Linked DNA regions of Homo sapiens: regions 1 and 3 are each linked to region 2. The links are contacts of gene promoters, found by promoter capture Hi-C in blood cells and fetal thymus (Javierre and others, 2016). All regions are on one chromosome and are shown on one strand. The core of a region is centred on a gene start or on the middle of the fragment in contact, and the rest is flanking DNA. Distances in the headings are between cores, read along the strand shown.

What was found. The method cuts DNA at HindIII sites, captures the fragments that hold promoters and counts their contacts. A CHiCAGO score of 5 or more calls a contact.
Region 1: a contact is called between the fragment with the promoter of GRTP1 here and a fragment that was not itself captured in region 2, in 1 of 17 cell types (M1 macrophages). The highest score is 5.4, in M1 macrophages.
Region 3: a contact is called between the fragment with the promoter of LAMP1 here and a fragment that was not itself captured in region 2, in 1 of 17 cell types (naive CD8 T cells). The highest score is 6.0, in naive CD8 T cells.

What each region holds. Positions count from the first base shown.
Region 1 is chr13:113,362,270-113,366,818 of GRCh38, reverse strand. GRTP1 (growth hormone regulated TBC protein 1) reads left to right here and starts at 2,689. Exons shown (of 8, transcript NM_024719.4): 1 at 2,689-2,799; 2 at 2,909-3,057. The coding sequence starts at 2,768. RefSeq lists enhancers at 436-1,129, 1,130-1,823 and a silencer at 2,811-3,105. The HindIII fragment of the contact is 5,619 bases long and covers 1,418-4,549 here.
Region 2 is chr13:112,969,025-112,973,759 of GRCh38, reverse strand. It overlaps MCF2L (MCF.2 cell line derived transforming sequence like), which reads right to left and starts at 4,546. Exons shown (of 30, transcript NM_001112732.3): 1 at 4,302-4,546. The coding sequence starts at 4,380. RefSeq lists a silencer at 4,611-4,670. The HindIII fragment of the contact is 516 bases long and covers 3,228-3,743 here.
Region 3 is chr13:113,294,843-113,299,650 of GRCh38, reverse strand. LAMP1 (lysosomal associated membrane protein 1) reads right to left here and starts at 2,412. Exons shown (of 9, transcript NM_005561.4): 1 at 2,156-2,412. The coding sequence starts at 2,216. RefSeq lists an enhancer at 1,592-1,771 and a silencer at 2,002-2,281. The HindIII fragment of the contact is 11,770 bases long and covers 1-4,808 here.

The DNA.
Region 1 (4,549 bases), core at 1,440-3,939, 390 kb before region 2:
GTCTCTACTAAAAATACAAAATTAGTTGGGCGTAGTGGCGCATGCCTGTAATCCCAGCTACTTGGGATGCTGAGGCAGGAGAATCGCTTGAACCCAGGAGGCGGAGGTTGCAGTGAGCCGAGATTGAGCTATTGCACTCCAGCCTGGGCAACAAGAGTGAAACTCCGACTCAAAAAAAAAAAAAAAAAAAAGCAACAAGACGGCTGAATTCCTGAAGGGAGGAGGGGCATCATGGGTGGTGACCCCACAGAGGCCCCCTGGTGTGGCCCCTGAGGCCCCTCAGACTGAAGAGGGCCTCCTGCAAGGGAGCTGGGTCCCCCGGGGGAGGGTGAATTCTGAGTCCCTGAACTGCAGGGCAAGCTGACCCAGAGCTCCAGCACTGCAAAGCCTCCCCCGGAAAGGGCTGTCTGGAGCGGCTGTGGCCAGCACAGTCACTCCTGGGGTGGGTGTGCACCTGGCTTTTGCATCATGGCTGACTGTGCTGGTGGCTTCACAGAAAGGGAGTTTGTGTGAGGATGCTCGGGTGCCTGCTGGGTGCTTGGCACTGGGGTCGGGGGGGCGGTGAATGGAGGCACCTGAGGGACACAGTCCCAGGTGGGAGCTGTCCCAGGTGGGAGCTGTTCCAGATAGGAGCTGCTGTCTCCCAGTCAGGTCCCAGGTTGGGGCTTGGCCAGGCCTGGGCTGGAGCGGGAGACCTTTCTAGCTGCCTCGGTCTGGCTGCCCACCCTGCACAGAGCCTGGGGCTCTGGCCTCTCTGTATCTCTCCTCTCCACTCTTCCTGGAGGGCACCGCTCTTATCTGACCTGCTCCCCCACAGTCTCCCTACATCTGGCCCAAAAATACACTTGGTGGCAGTCCCGCCATCACACTCAGGCTCGGGAGCTGGCGGCCCCTGGTCCGTGCTGCCTGCCACGCTGCTTTCCACGGCAGTGGTGGGAAAGGGAGGTTAGAACCCCATCTCCATGGCCAGAAGGCAGGAATTAGGGAAAAGGGGAGCCGTGAGGCTTCCAGGCCTGGGGTTGGAACAGAAGCTGCGCGGTGTGGGGCGATTTGGGCGCAGGACCCCGGGTGCTGGGAAGTGGGGAGCAGGACTGTGTCTGTTGCTCCAGAAAGCGCGAGGGATGCGATATAGGAAATTCGGGCGTCAGTTAGAGCCCGAGAGGGGTTCAGGGAGTCACTGACTTAGGCAGAGAGGAGCCCAGACGGGGTTCGAAGACCCTGGGGACGGACGCCCACCTGTCAGTCCTGGACTGTGGGGCACCCGTAGGCCGAGGGGCAGGAGGCTATGGCCCTGTCTCCTGGCTTGGGTCTAAACATCCCAAGGAGGTCAGACCGTAGAGTGGGGGCTGTGTGATCTTTCAAATGAGGGACGCCGCGTGTTACCAAAGGCCAGTGCTGAGGAGCTGGGCTGAAAGCTTGGGGAGTTCCCAGAACCAGCAGACTAGGAACGGGAGGAACCGTGTCGGGGGCTCTGCTCCGCTGGGCACTGACCCCCACCCCGCCCCCCGGTCTTGCAAGGGCTGGAGAAGGGTGAAAGGCAGAGGCGGGAGTCCGCACTTAGGGACCGGTCCGTTCCACACGCTGCTGACCAGGCTCCTGGGTGGCGCTCGCATGGAACATTCCGGAAACACCCATGGGAAGGTCCCAAGTTGGTTCCGAAAGGCCCTGACGGACGCGCAGGGGACGCTGAGCCTGTGATCCTCGCCTCACCCAGACGAGGCCGGGCTGCTTCTCACAGGAAAGTGCGTCTGGAGTCCGGGGACGGCCTCCTCCTGGGGCCTGTCCAGGTCGCCCTGGGCCTAAATTACAGGCGGGGAGAGGCCTGTCGGAGGAGCCCCCGCTCCAGACCCCTGGGGGACCCAGGGCGAGGTCGCCCCAGCGCCTCACGTCTGGGGGCTCCCCTTTGCCACGTCGCCAGAGCAAAATTCAAAATCTGCAGTTCTGGCAAATTTCCGGGGCCTCCCGGACACGAAAAGCAGCTGAAATCTCAGGACAATGTCATTGGATGCGGACCGAGAAGAAGCCGTTCGGAACCAGAGCTGCCCCGGATTCTCCCAGGCCTGGCTCGCCGGTGGGGGGACCCCGGTCCCTGGTTTGGGGGGGCAGGAACGGGCGGGCGCCCCTGGGGGCTTCTCATTTGTGTGTTGGTCTCGGCCTTGAAATGCAGCGGAGAAAATAAAAAATAAAATAAAAATAGGAGTCAGGTGTCAGAGTCGGGTCGGCCAGGCACTGAGGTTTGAAGGAATCGCAGAAGAAGCTCCTCTCACCCGGGTCCAGGCCGCGGGGGTTCTGCGGGAGGCGCCCCCGATTCTGCCCGCGGGACGCCGCGGCCTCGGAAGCCCCGGGAGCAGGCCCCGCCCCGCCCCCACCCTCCTCTCTCCCCAAGTCCTCCCGCCCCCCCAGCCCCGCCCCTCCCCCGCCCTGGGTGCTCCCCTGCCCCTCCCCCGGCCCTCCCCCGCCCCTCACCCGCTCCTGCCCCTCCTCTCTCCCCAGGTCCTCCCGCCCCCAGCCCCGCCCCTCCCCCGCCCTGGGTGCTCCCCTGCCCCTCCCCCGCTCCTGCCCCTCCTCTCTCCCCAAGTCCTCCCCGCCCCCAGCCGCCCCTCCCCCCGCCCTGCCCCCCCCCGCCCCCGCCTCCAGCCCCGCCCCTCTCCGCTCCCCGCCCCGCCCCCACGCGCCCGCGGTCCCGCCGGAAGGACTTAAGCGCCCCGGAGCCGGGAGGCGAACTTGGGACCCGCTGGCCTCGCTCGGTGCGCGCCTCCCTCCCCGCATGCAGCCCGCCGAGCGCTCGCGGGTCCCCAGGTGTGTGGCGCGGGGTGCGGGCGTCCCCGGCGGCTGCGGTCCCCGCGCGGGCCCGCGACCCCCCAGAGGAAACTTCGGGGACGCCGGCCTCCTTCTCTCGGTTTTGCAGGATCGACCCGTACGGATTCGAGCGGCCTGAGGACTTCGACGACGCCGCCTACGAGAAGTTTTTCTCCAGCTACCTGGTCACGCTCACCCGCAGGGCGATCAAATGGTCCCGGCTGCTGCAGGGCGGGGGCGTCCCCAGGAGCCGGACAGGTGGGTCCCGGGGGCGCAGGTGGGTCCCGAGGGCGCAGGTGGGTTGGGCTGGGACGGGCCGGGCAAAGTCCGGGCTCCCGGAGCGGAGGGAGGGGGAGGAACCTTTCCGGGCAGGTCGGGACGAAGCTGCGGGCTCCGAGCTAGGGCAGCCGCAGGGACCGGTTTTCCCGCTTTGAGATGGGCCGGCGGGTCGGACGCGAAGGAGACCCGTCCCTCCCAGCAGGGAGCCATATCGGGATGGATCAAAACTCGATCCATGCCGGGCGCGGTGGCTCACGCCTGTAATCCCAGCGCTTTGGGAGGCCGAGGCGGGCGGATCACGAGGTCAGGAGTTTGAGACCAGCCTGACCAACATGGTGAAACCCCGTCTCTACTAAAAATACAAAATTAGCCGGGCGTGGTGGCTCCTGCCTGTAGTCCCAGCTACTCTGGAGGCTGAGGCAGGAGAATCGCTTGAACCCAGTAGGCGGAGGTTGCAGTGAGCCGAGATTGCGCCATTGCACTCCAGCCTGGGCGACAGAGCGAGACTCCGTCCTTGTGACGGGACCCACAGGGCCCTGCTCGACCTGCCGCTCCTCCGCGACCCCAGGCCTCCTACTGCTGCGGTGAGCACCGGCCTGACCGCCCGCCCGCCTCGGGGTTAGCTGCAGGGCCCCCTCCTCCGGGGCGCCCCAGGCTTCCCTGTGCGGAGGGCACCTCCTCATTTCTGCCTTTCCCAGCACAGCCCCTGCTGGAGTCAAAAACCCTTCCTCCCTGCAACGGATTTTTCATTCACTGCTCAGTCCTCAGAACCTGGGGCAGTGCCAGGCGACTTCCCTGTGTGTTCAGTGAATGAATGAAGTGTCTGCCTGGGGTGAGGGCTTGGTGGGAGTGTGCCCTGGAGCTAGGAACTCAGAGAAGTGGGGTCAAAGGGGAGTCCTGGGGGCTTCCTGAGAAGGGGGATGTGAATGGCAGCTGGGCTTCCAGGGACCGAGCAGTAGGGACCTGGTGGGGAAGGACAGAGATGAAACCAGGGGCCCTGCACCTGGGCGGAGGGTCGGAGGTGTGTGGTGACCACGGCCAGGCACAGAGAAGCCAACTGTTAAAGGTTTTCCAGGCAGGGGGTGACAAGATCAACTTTTGCTTTTATTTATTTATTTGAGACAGGGTATCCCTCTGAGTGCAGTGGCACAATCACCACTCACTGTAGCCTTGACCTCCTGGGCTCCAGCCATCCTCCCCTCTCAGCCTCCCGCATAGCTGGGACCACTGGTGTGGCCACCACTCCTGGCTAATTTTTAAATTTTTTATAGAGATGGAAGTTAATATCCTATATGCTTCCCACGAATGCATCATGTCCCATCCCTGTGGCCTCTGCATGTTCACATGTTTCCAGTGGAACGTGTGTCTTTATTTTTCCTTTTCATTTATTCTTTTTGATTTATTTATTTTTGAGACAGAGTCTCACTCTGTCGCCCAGGCTGGAGTGCAGTGGTGCGATCTCAGCTGACTG
Region 2 (4,735 bases), core at 2,236-4,735:
AGGGCGCTCCAAGCAAACACAGGGCCGGCCCCCCAGTGTCCTCAGAGCAGGCCGGAACTGAAACCCCCGGGAGCTCATAAGTCTGCCCCTGGTTCCACAGGTGAAGCCGTGCTCGCGCCGTCTTCGCATGGAGGGCGTCAGACTCACCCAGCTGGGAGGCCTGAGCGCTGCGTTCTCAGGAGCTCTTGGGAAGCACTGAGCCGTGGCGTCAGATCACAGAAGGTCAGCAACACAGGACACCAAGGATGCTCAGAGGACTCACGGTTTCCTCACAAGCCTCCCTCCGCTCAAATCTCTAAAACCTGCTCCGGAATCCCTACTAACAAGATCCATAACAACATCCCATGAAAGCTAATTGTTTTTTAAATGTTTCTGTACTTTATAGTCACACCTATCTAATTAGAGACCTAAATTTCATGTTACAAAATAGTCAGCAACCCACACAGACGTACCTCATTTGGCTGCGTGGTTTTTCTCCTAAAGGGCCTCAGCACATTTAAAAAATGGACAAAGAAATCATGGCTCCTTGAGGAGACGCCAATCACTGAGGCCGAAGGCAGAGGCGTGAGAGGGGAGTGCTAAGGCGTCCGTCAGAAACCGCTGGGCTGGCTAATAAGCAGGTGGCATTTTGCCAGGGAGCCGCACCTACTCCACTGAGAGCTCTTCAATTCCACACAGAAATGCGTGCCCCTGCCTCCTGGGCGCGTCCCCCCAGAGCTTTTCCTCTGAGACCTGCAACTGGGGGGTGCCGAACAGCTGTGCCTGTGTGGTGGTCCTGGGAAGCCCCCTCATCCCCCAAAGCCCCTCCGTGCTGCTGTGTCCCTCAGCCCATTGCTCAGGCCACAGGCCCTTCCCAGGAAGAGCTTAAGGACAGGAGGCAGCACACAGCTTTTGCTCATCCATCCATCCATCCATTCATCCATCCATCCACCTTCCATCCATCCATCCACTCCTCCACTCCATGCATCCACTCATCTATGCATCCATCCCTCCCTCCCTCCATCCATCCACCCACCCATTCATCTATCCAGTCATCCAGTCATCCATCCATCCATACACCCATCCACCTACCCCTCCATCTACCTTACATACATATATCCACTCATCCATCTATCTACCAACTCATTCATCCATCCATCCATCCACTCATCCGTCCAAGCATCCACTCATCCATCCATCTACCCATTCATCATCCTCCATTTATCTATTTATCCATCCATCCACCCACACATCCATCCATCCACTCACACATCCATCCATCCATCATCATCCATCCATCCATCCACCCACACACCCACTCATCCACCCTTACATTCATCCACCCACCCATCCATCCACCCACTTATCCACTATCTACTAACTCATTTATCCATCCATCCATCCATCCATCCATCCATCCACCCACTTACACATCCATCCATCCATCATCATCCATCCATCCATCCATCCACCCACCCACACATCCATTCATCCACCCCTACATTCATCCACCCACCCATCCATCCACCCACCCACCCATCTACCCATTCATCCATCCATCCACTCATTTATCCATGCATTATCCATCTATCATCATCTGTCTATGACAAGAGTTAGTATTAGGTCAACTAATGGAAAAGGTGGGGCTAGATTTAAAGATTCTTCTACCACAGTAGTTCCCCAAGTTTGATTCCTGAAGAACTTCATCAAGAACTTAAGAAATGTCAATTATCAGACCCTACCCCAGACTTCCTGAATCAGAAACTCTGAGGGTGGGCCCAGCAGCCTGTGCTTTAACAAGCCCCCAAGGTGACGCATGTACATGCTGTAGTTGGAGGACCACTGTTCTGTTTCATCGAATGCTTAAATCAACTAGATCCATAGCATTGCTCCCTCGAATGTCTTCTACCTTTTCACCAATGACTAAAATTCCAAAGAGAAAACCAAAACAGACGAAAATGAGCCCTATCACATAGAAGGGGGGCCAGGGGGAAGTTGCCACTGGAAAGTGCCCCTGGCCTTGTTACTGAAGATCAGGTTCAGAAAAGTATATAAAATGTCAATTCTCAAGGTCAAAGGCTACAGATTCACAGACCATATGGACAGCACACATTATCCTCCTTTACATGCAGATTAGCCTAGCTAATGAAGGTTCTAGGTGACAGAAGAAATGCATAAATCTGAAATTAAAACACAGCAGCATGTCCTGGACAGCAGCAAAGATAAAATGCCTGTGGGTTGGGGGTGAATCTACAGAGGGTGAAGCTCTGCACAGCTGAATGAGGCAGCTGCTCTAAGGCCAGCCGCTGTACGCAATCCCTCAGCTGTGACCTAGCCCCGCCACTGCCCTGAGGACCTACACCAGCCGCCACATCAGTGTCCTGTTGCCATCAGCTTTTACCTGGCACGGATCCTAGCATGACCCCAGAAGGAGAAGCAGCTCCATGACCTCCCGCTGAAGAGTGTTTGGCTGCAGGTGGGGAACTCTCCTGAGGAAGTGCTTGGAATTTAAACCCGAGGTGGGGATCAGGTTTACCTTGACCTTCACCCCTACCAGAGAATGTGCACCACATACCCGTACACTCTGTGGTAGCATCATGTCAATACTGCATCATAAACCCCCTCATGATGGTTTTACAGCCTTCAACCTAATAACTTGCCTCCGCTGAGCAGTACCTCACACAGCGTGAGCAGAAAATGGGTTTGTGCTGAAGGAAGAGGCCAGTGTTAATGGGTGGTAAGTGGAGTATGATGCAGGGTCACCTCCCCTAACTAAACGCTACAGGGTGCTCATAACCGAGGATATCTGGTAAGCTGGACTTGAAAGTCCTGGTGAAGCATGCAATTATCGGTAATGCAGATGTGTGGGAGGACGCACATCTCACTGCCTGTTCCAGATGAGACGATGGCCCACACCGAGCGCCCGGCTCGCACGACATTCAGTGAGCAGACAGTGTCACTGCTGCTCTTCTGAGATAGCCTTTTTCCAATTAAAAATGCGCACATGTCTCTTGGAGCTCATGAAGAAACCCCAATCCCTAAAAACCTGGGGAATGACATCAGCCTCTGGAGCGGTTCCCACTCTGTGACTCTGACACCGAACGGCACGCAGAGGCATGCAGAGCAAGGGGGGCTTTCTCCTCCACCCCCACAGCCGATCGGAAGCCTCCCTGTGAACCTGGCATCCACGCAGCCCTTCACCATACTCAAACCCTGCAAACCCTGCACGGAAAAGCTCCACTCAAGCTTCAGAAAAAGAGCTGATTCTCTAAGAATCAGGGAGCAGACGGCATGAAAATGGTTTTGTTTTCTTTCGACCCACATACAATAAACCCAGCAGCTTTGATCATAAAAGCCCCCATTAAAAACATCTTGATTAGACCATCCCATACGATGGTGCTTATGCTGATTTAATCACTGGTTCACTCTCAGAATCCATCGGGGTGGGCAGAGAAAGAGAACCACACCCAAACCAAGCAACTGACATTTTAATCTCCCAGGCAAGTACTAGTTAGACAACTAGTAATGGCATATATGACATAACATATGGCAACATCAGGCAAAACACTTGGCAACTTACTTTTAATGATATATCATTATTTCCTCTTCATTTCAAGGAAAACGAGTTAAGGATGCCTCTCCCTTCTGCATAACACAGCCTGAGAACTCAGATGCGACCGCCTGAAAGCCACGGCCAGATGCAAGCTGTCAGCCCAGTCTCTGCTTACACCTAAAAGAATCGATCTGAACTACTCTTCAAAGCTTATTTGAAGTAATATTTCGATTAATACTGAAAATGAACGTCCAGTCCACTCTTTACCCATACCGTCTCAAACATCTGTCTTAGGTTTAAATTGCATTTAATGAAGAAAAGAACCACCTGATTAGTCCAGGTTTTTTCATCCTCAAAACGAGCTTCCAGGTAGCTTCACCATCCCTACCCCTGGCTCTGAAACCCCAAGCTCTGAAAGCCCTTGGCTCAGATCATTCTCCATTCGCAATGCATTCTCCATTGCGAGGGCTGCGGACAGGCAGGTTGATGGGCAGACTTCAGACACACAAATGGCTCCGCATGCAGACCCAGCAACCCTGAGAGAGCCAGTGTCACCAACGTGCAGTCATTTTGACTATCCCGGGCAGCATACGATCGCCGACAGCCTCTGAAAACACACCAGCTGCCAACCAGTGCCCCCCATGTCACAGCTACCACGGCTAGAAAGGAACACGAGGGCGGCTTACAAAAATCAGACGCATTTCCCCACATTTCAGCCCATGATGTCAAGCTTAAGCACAGATCACTGACGGCCAGCAGCTCCTCCTACCCGTGTGCTTGGAAACCGCATTTAATCTCTGCACCATTTCTTCCAAGGCCATCTCTTCAGTCCTCAGCCAAAACCTCATCCTCCGACACAACAAAAATGATCCTGGCAGATCCGCTTCCTCCGCACGGGGGGCGCCTGCGGGTGGGGCCGTGCGAGTGCGGAGGGGGCGCGGCGGAGGCGGGGAGGGGGCCACGGCAGCGCTTTCAGCCTCCAGCCGCCGCCTCCCTGCCCAGGATTGGTTCCGCGCCACCGGGAGGGGGGCGCGCGCTGCGCCGCGGGGGGCGGGGGGCGGCTCGGCGGAAGCGGAAGCGGCGCGCGCCCGCCCCGGTGTGTCACCACCGCGGGTCACCTGGGAGTCCTGTGAGTGCACCGCCGGGGTCACCTGGGAGCCCCGCGTGTCACCGCCGCGGTCGTCGGGGAGCCCCGGGGCTCAC
Region 3 (4,808 bases), core at 1,163-3,662, 330 kb before region 2:
GCTGCAGTGAACGGAGATCACGCCACTGCACTCCAGCCTGGGTGACAGAGTGAGACTCTGCCTCAAAAAAAAAAAAAAAAAATTCTTGGGCCAAGTACGGTGGCTCAAACCCGTACTCCCAGCACTTTGGGAGGCAGAGGGAGGCGGATCACGAGGTCGGGAGATCGAGACCAGTCTAACCAACATAGTTAAACCTAGTCTCTACCAAAAATACATAAATTAGCCTAGCATAGTGGCGGGTGCCTGTAATCCCAGCTACTCAGGAAGCTGAGGCAGAAGAATTGCTCGAACCCAGGAGGCAGAAGTTGTAGTGAGCCGAGGTTGTGCCACTGCACTCCAGCCTGGGCACAGAGCAACTCCGCCTCAAAAAAAAAAAGTTAAGATTGTAAACATAAAAGATATAATGGAACAGATCTTAGAAGACTGATTACACAAGCAATATTCCAATCACAATATTAGGGAGTTATGGATTTTTTCTCTTCATTTTTAAAGTTAATTTTTTTTTTGTTTTGAGACGGAGTCTCCCTCAGTTGCCCAGGCTGGAGTGCAGTGGCTTGATCTCAGCTCACTGCAACCTCTGCTTCCCGGGTTCAAGCAATTCTTCTGCCTCAGCCTACCAAGTAGCTGGGATTACAGGCGTGCGCCACCATGCCCAGCTAATTTTTGTATTTTTGTAGAGACCGGGTTTCGCCATATTGGCCAGGCTGGTCTCGAACTCCTGACGCCATGATCCATCTGCCTCGGCCACCCAAAGTGTTGGGATTAAAGGCGTGAGCCACTGCTCCCGGCCTGAAGTGAGTTTTTAAAACATGAAACAAAACATCAAAGTTATGAGGCTTGTGAGCATCTGTAACAAAGAACAATGCAGTTGCTGTGACATGACAAAACTTGTTTCTGCAACTCCTTTCATTAACTACACCTGACCCTGTCGCAGGAGCTGAGCAAGGCTTCAGGCTTACTATTGGAATAAGTTCATCTCTGTGGCTATTCAGGCAGTTCAAAGAATTCATTTTACACAACAGGCAAAACAAAAAAGGGAAGCCAAGATCCATTCACTCACAGTAACAGAGTTTTACAGCTGGATGGGACTGAGGGATTTAAAGAAGTCAAGGCAGATGTGTACAGGAGTGTATTTCTATATCTACTTAACTCACACACACTCCCCCAGCTTGATTCTACATCACCTTTCAGATCCTGGCATTTAAGATAATCTTCTCATATTACGGGGGAGGGCGGCGGGGGGAGGAGGTGAAAGAATAGTGTTGGCGGGGGGCAATCCGGACTGTCTTAAAGAGACAGCACACATCCTCTTATTAAGACAATAAATGAGAACGAAATTCACTAGTCAATACAATATTGAGCACCTACTGCCCATCTGAGCTCTATAAACTGACAGAAGAGAAGGGTGCTTCCCCACGTGTTCCCTGGTCCCGCATTTCGGCCTACAGGAACGGCGCTCTTTAAACTACTTACTAGACATGAACATTGCCACCGTGAGTCTGAGGCCAGCTTTCCCTCATCTTGTCTACTACGGAATCTTGTGAAATCCCAAAGATAACTTTAAAAATTATTTTAACATACATGTGAATTCACAATAACATAAATACACTCGCATCTCCTCCACACCGCTGAAAGAGGAGAAAGGTTCAAGTACAAAGGTGGGGAATGCTCGCACCGGCTTCTCCCTGTCCTGGGTGAAATCCATGTTGGGAAGAGCTTGATCTAGGTCACCCACCCGGGAGCTGAGACCACAGACGTCCCTGCCACCTTCGGCGGCGCAGCCTCGTCTAGATCTCACCGCCTCAACTTGCCAGGAAACTTAACGACCTGAAAGCACCAGACCGCCGAGCAAGCCATCGGAAGTTCCCTTTCGCACTCACCACCACAGAAAAACTGAGTTCAGTGAGACAGACCTTAGAGGAGCCAGGTCCTGGGATGAGACCTCCTGGTCCCCCAAGCACCTGCCATTGAGCTCCGCTCCGACCCTACGACCCCGAGAGAAACACCCGCCCGCGGGCAGAGCCGGCCGGGACCAGGAGCAGTGGGTGCGGGGCGACCCGCGGGACAACGACCCGGCAGTCCCCCGCCCTCAAGACCCAGGGACCTCGGCTCCGCCCGGTCCCGCCGCTCCCAGGCCCCGCCTCGACCCCCTCACCGAGCAGCAGCAACAGCAGTAGCAGCAGCAGGGGTCGCCGGGCGCTGCCGGGGGCCGCCATGGCGCGAGGCGGCCGGGTACGGTGCGGGGAGCGGGGGCGCGGGCGGCGGTTGGGCCGCGGACTGCCGGGCGCTGCGGTGGCGGGGCGCGGGCGCCAAGGGCTGGCGTTAGAGACAGCGGCGTTACCAGACGCAAGAGGCCCGGCCACTGCGACGCCGGCACGAAGAAGACACCGCGGCCGGCAGCGCTTGTCACGTGAGCTGCGCCGCGCCCGGGCGTCACGTGATCCCGCGGGTCTCGCGAGAGCGCGCGCGTCGAGCGCCGGCGGCTCGGCTCCCCGCAGGTGCGGCAGCTTCCAGCACCGCGCGCCCCCTCACGCGTGATGCAGGCCGACACGTGACCCGCAGCGGCACGTGACCCGCAGCGGCACGTGACCCTGGACCCACGTGACCCGGCCTGGTCCGGGGGACTGGGGCCGAGCCGAGGTCCTGAAACGGGAAGTGGGCTGGGTTCGCGGAAAAGGAAGAGGAAGAGTAGTGGCGGGAGAAAGTGAGGAAAGAGGAAGCCCGCGAGGGGAGAAAGGGCAGACGGATCGCGGACGCCCAGGCCTCCCTTCAGCCTGCGAGGCGTCCCAAACGCGGGCTCTTTATGGACAGGAGGGTGGTGTGGGTGGCAGCGCGGGTGACCGGCCGGGTGCGCGGCCAGGGATGGGCGAAGGGTTTGTCTTTTGGTGAGTGGGAAGCAAGTTCCTCACACAGGGAGGCCACTGTGCCCAAACTCTTGAGTGGTTTTAGGAAGGAAATAAGGGATCTGAAATGGGTCAGTGCGGCCTTCCGCTCGTTAATCGCGGGCTGAGGGAAGACGGCACCAGGCTGCCCAAGGTGAAGGTGAAGGTGCGATGGCGATACTCTTTGGCTTACAGAAAGTTCCTGTCGAGCACTTTGTTTTTTTTTTTGAGACGGAGTCTCGCTCTGTCGCCCAGGCTGGAGTGCAGTGGCGCGATCTCGGCTCGCTGTAACCTCCGCCTCCCGGGTTCAAGCGATTCTCTTGCCTCAGCCTCCCAAGTAGCTGGGATTACAGGCGTGCGCCACCACGCCCGGCTGATTTTGTATGTTGAGTAGAGACGGGGTTTCACCAGTTGGCCAGGCTGGTCTCGAACTCCTGACCTCAAGCAATCCACCCGCCTCGGCCTCCCAAAGTGCTGAGATTACAGCCCTGAGCCACGGCGCCTGGCTCCTGCATTTTAGAAGTCTGAAGATGCTCTGTTTTTTGGCTTGTCATCATATAGGATTTATGGCCTTTTGTTAAAATACTATTTAATTAAGGCCCCTACGCTACTGCTTTGTATAAAGCACCCGTCGCATAAGTACCTACATCTTAGAAAAAGATTTAATCTTACATTTCAAAAGGCATCATAGCAACGGGGACTGGATGTGCACCTAGTTAATAGAGACAGCACTCAGCCAGATAAAGACAGGACCAGGCACTCACTATCAGTCCTCACCAGAGGACTGTGACCTTAAAAAGGGCGGGATTTGACCAATTCAACACTGGCATTTTGATAGACCCCACCTTGCTGTCACTTGTGCTTAGCACCCTGCATCTGCTGCCTAAGGATCTGCTCACATCAAGGACTTCCTTGGAAGACAATGACTTCTGTCTGGATCAGGCTGGAATACACTCCTTGTTCCCGTCATTGCTTTCCTTGGATTGATCCATTAACCCCTTTTCCTATCCTCTTTCTCTTGATGTCCAATGTTACTTTGTTTGATGGGGAATGTTTAAACCATAGCGTTTGTATTTTAAGTACACTATGATGTATAGTTTGCAGTATTGACTGACACGTGGACTGGCTTGAGCCTTTGCCCATGGCTCTACCAAGTTAACAAGTAGTACTGAAGGGAATTGTCTCGAGGCAACTCCTCGTAGCTCGTGGCTTTTATAATTGAAATAGCATCAATATATTCCCACCCTGTGGAAAGACATAAACGTGTGTGGACCTGGTTATGTCTGACCTTGTGCTGTTCACAACATGCCTTGAGAGAGAAATACTTCTGAACTGAGGCCTCTCACACGATGGGTACAGCAAGTGCTAATAAACTTCTGCTTGTTTCTCCTGTTGCTCTGAATTTTGTTTTCAGGAGAATGTCTCAACTAATAAAGAGAGAAAGAAGAGAAATTATATTTTCTCCCCTGCAGTGGAATGAGACAATTACGCGAAACTCTGGAGGTTTAAATTCGGGGACTCCTCTGATCCACTGCTTCTTAAGGAGGCTAGAAGTAGGGTTTAGAAAGTAGGAGAGGTGTTTGAACAAGCATACTGAATATTACAGTTTTATGGTGCAAAACAAAAACCTGCTTAACAATGCAAAAATAGAATCTAATGCTGGACAAAATCTTGGTTGAAGGAGGTTCAGAGATGACATGATTCCCACACTGTGTCCTAAAGTGTGTATCAGAACGGAGGGAGGGCATTTATCAAAAAAAGGCTCAGAAACACTCATCTAGTCCAAACCATACATATCTGTTCTTTCCTTTCCTGCTGCTGCCCCATGCTCTGGCCATACTCATCTATTTACTTCACCTGTCTCCACTTTTTTGTGGTTACAATTATTTAGACAAAGTGATGCCCTACTCCCTCCCTCCCTTCTTT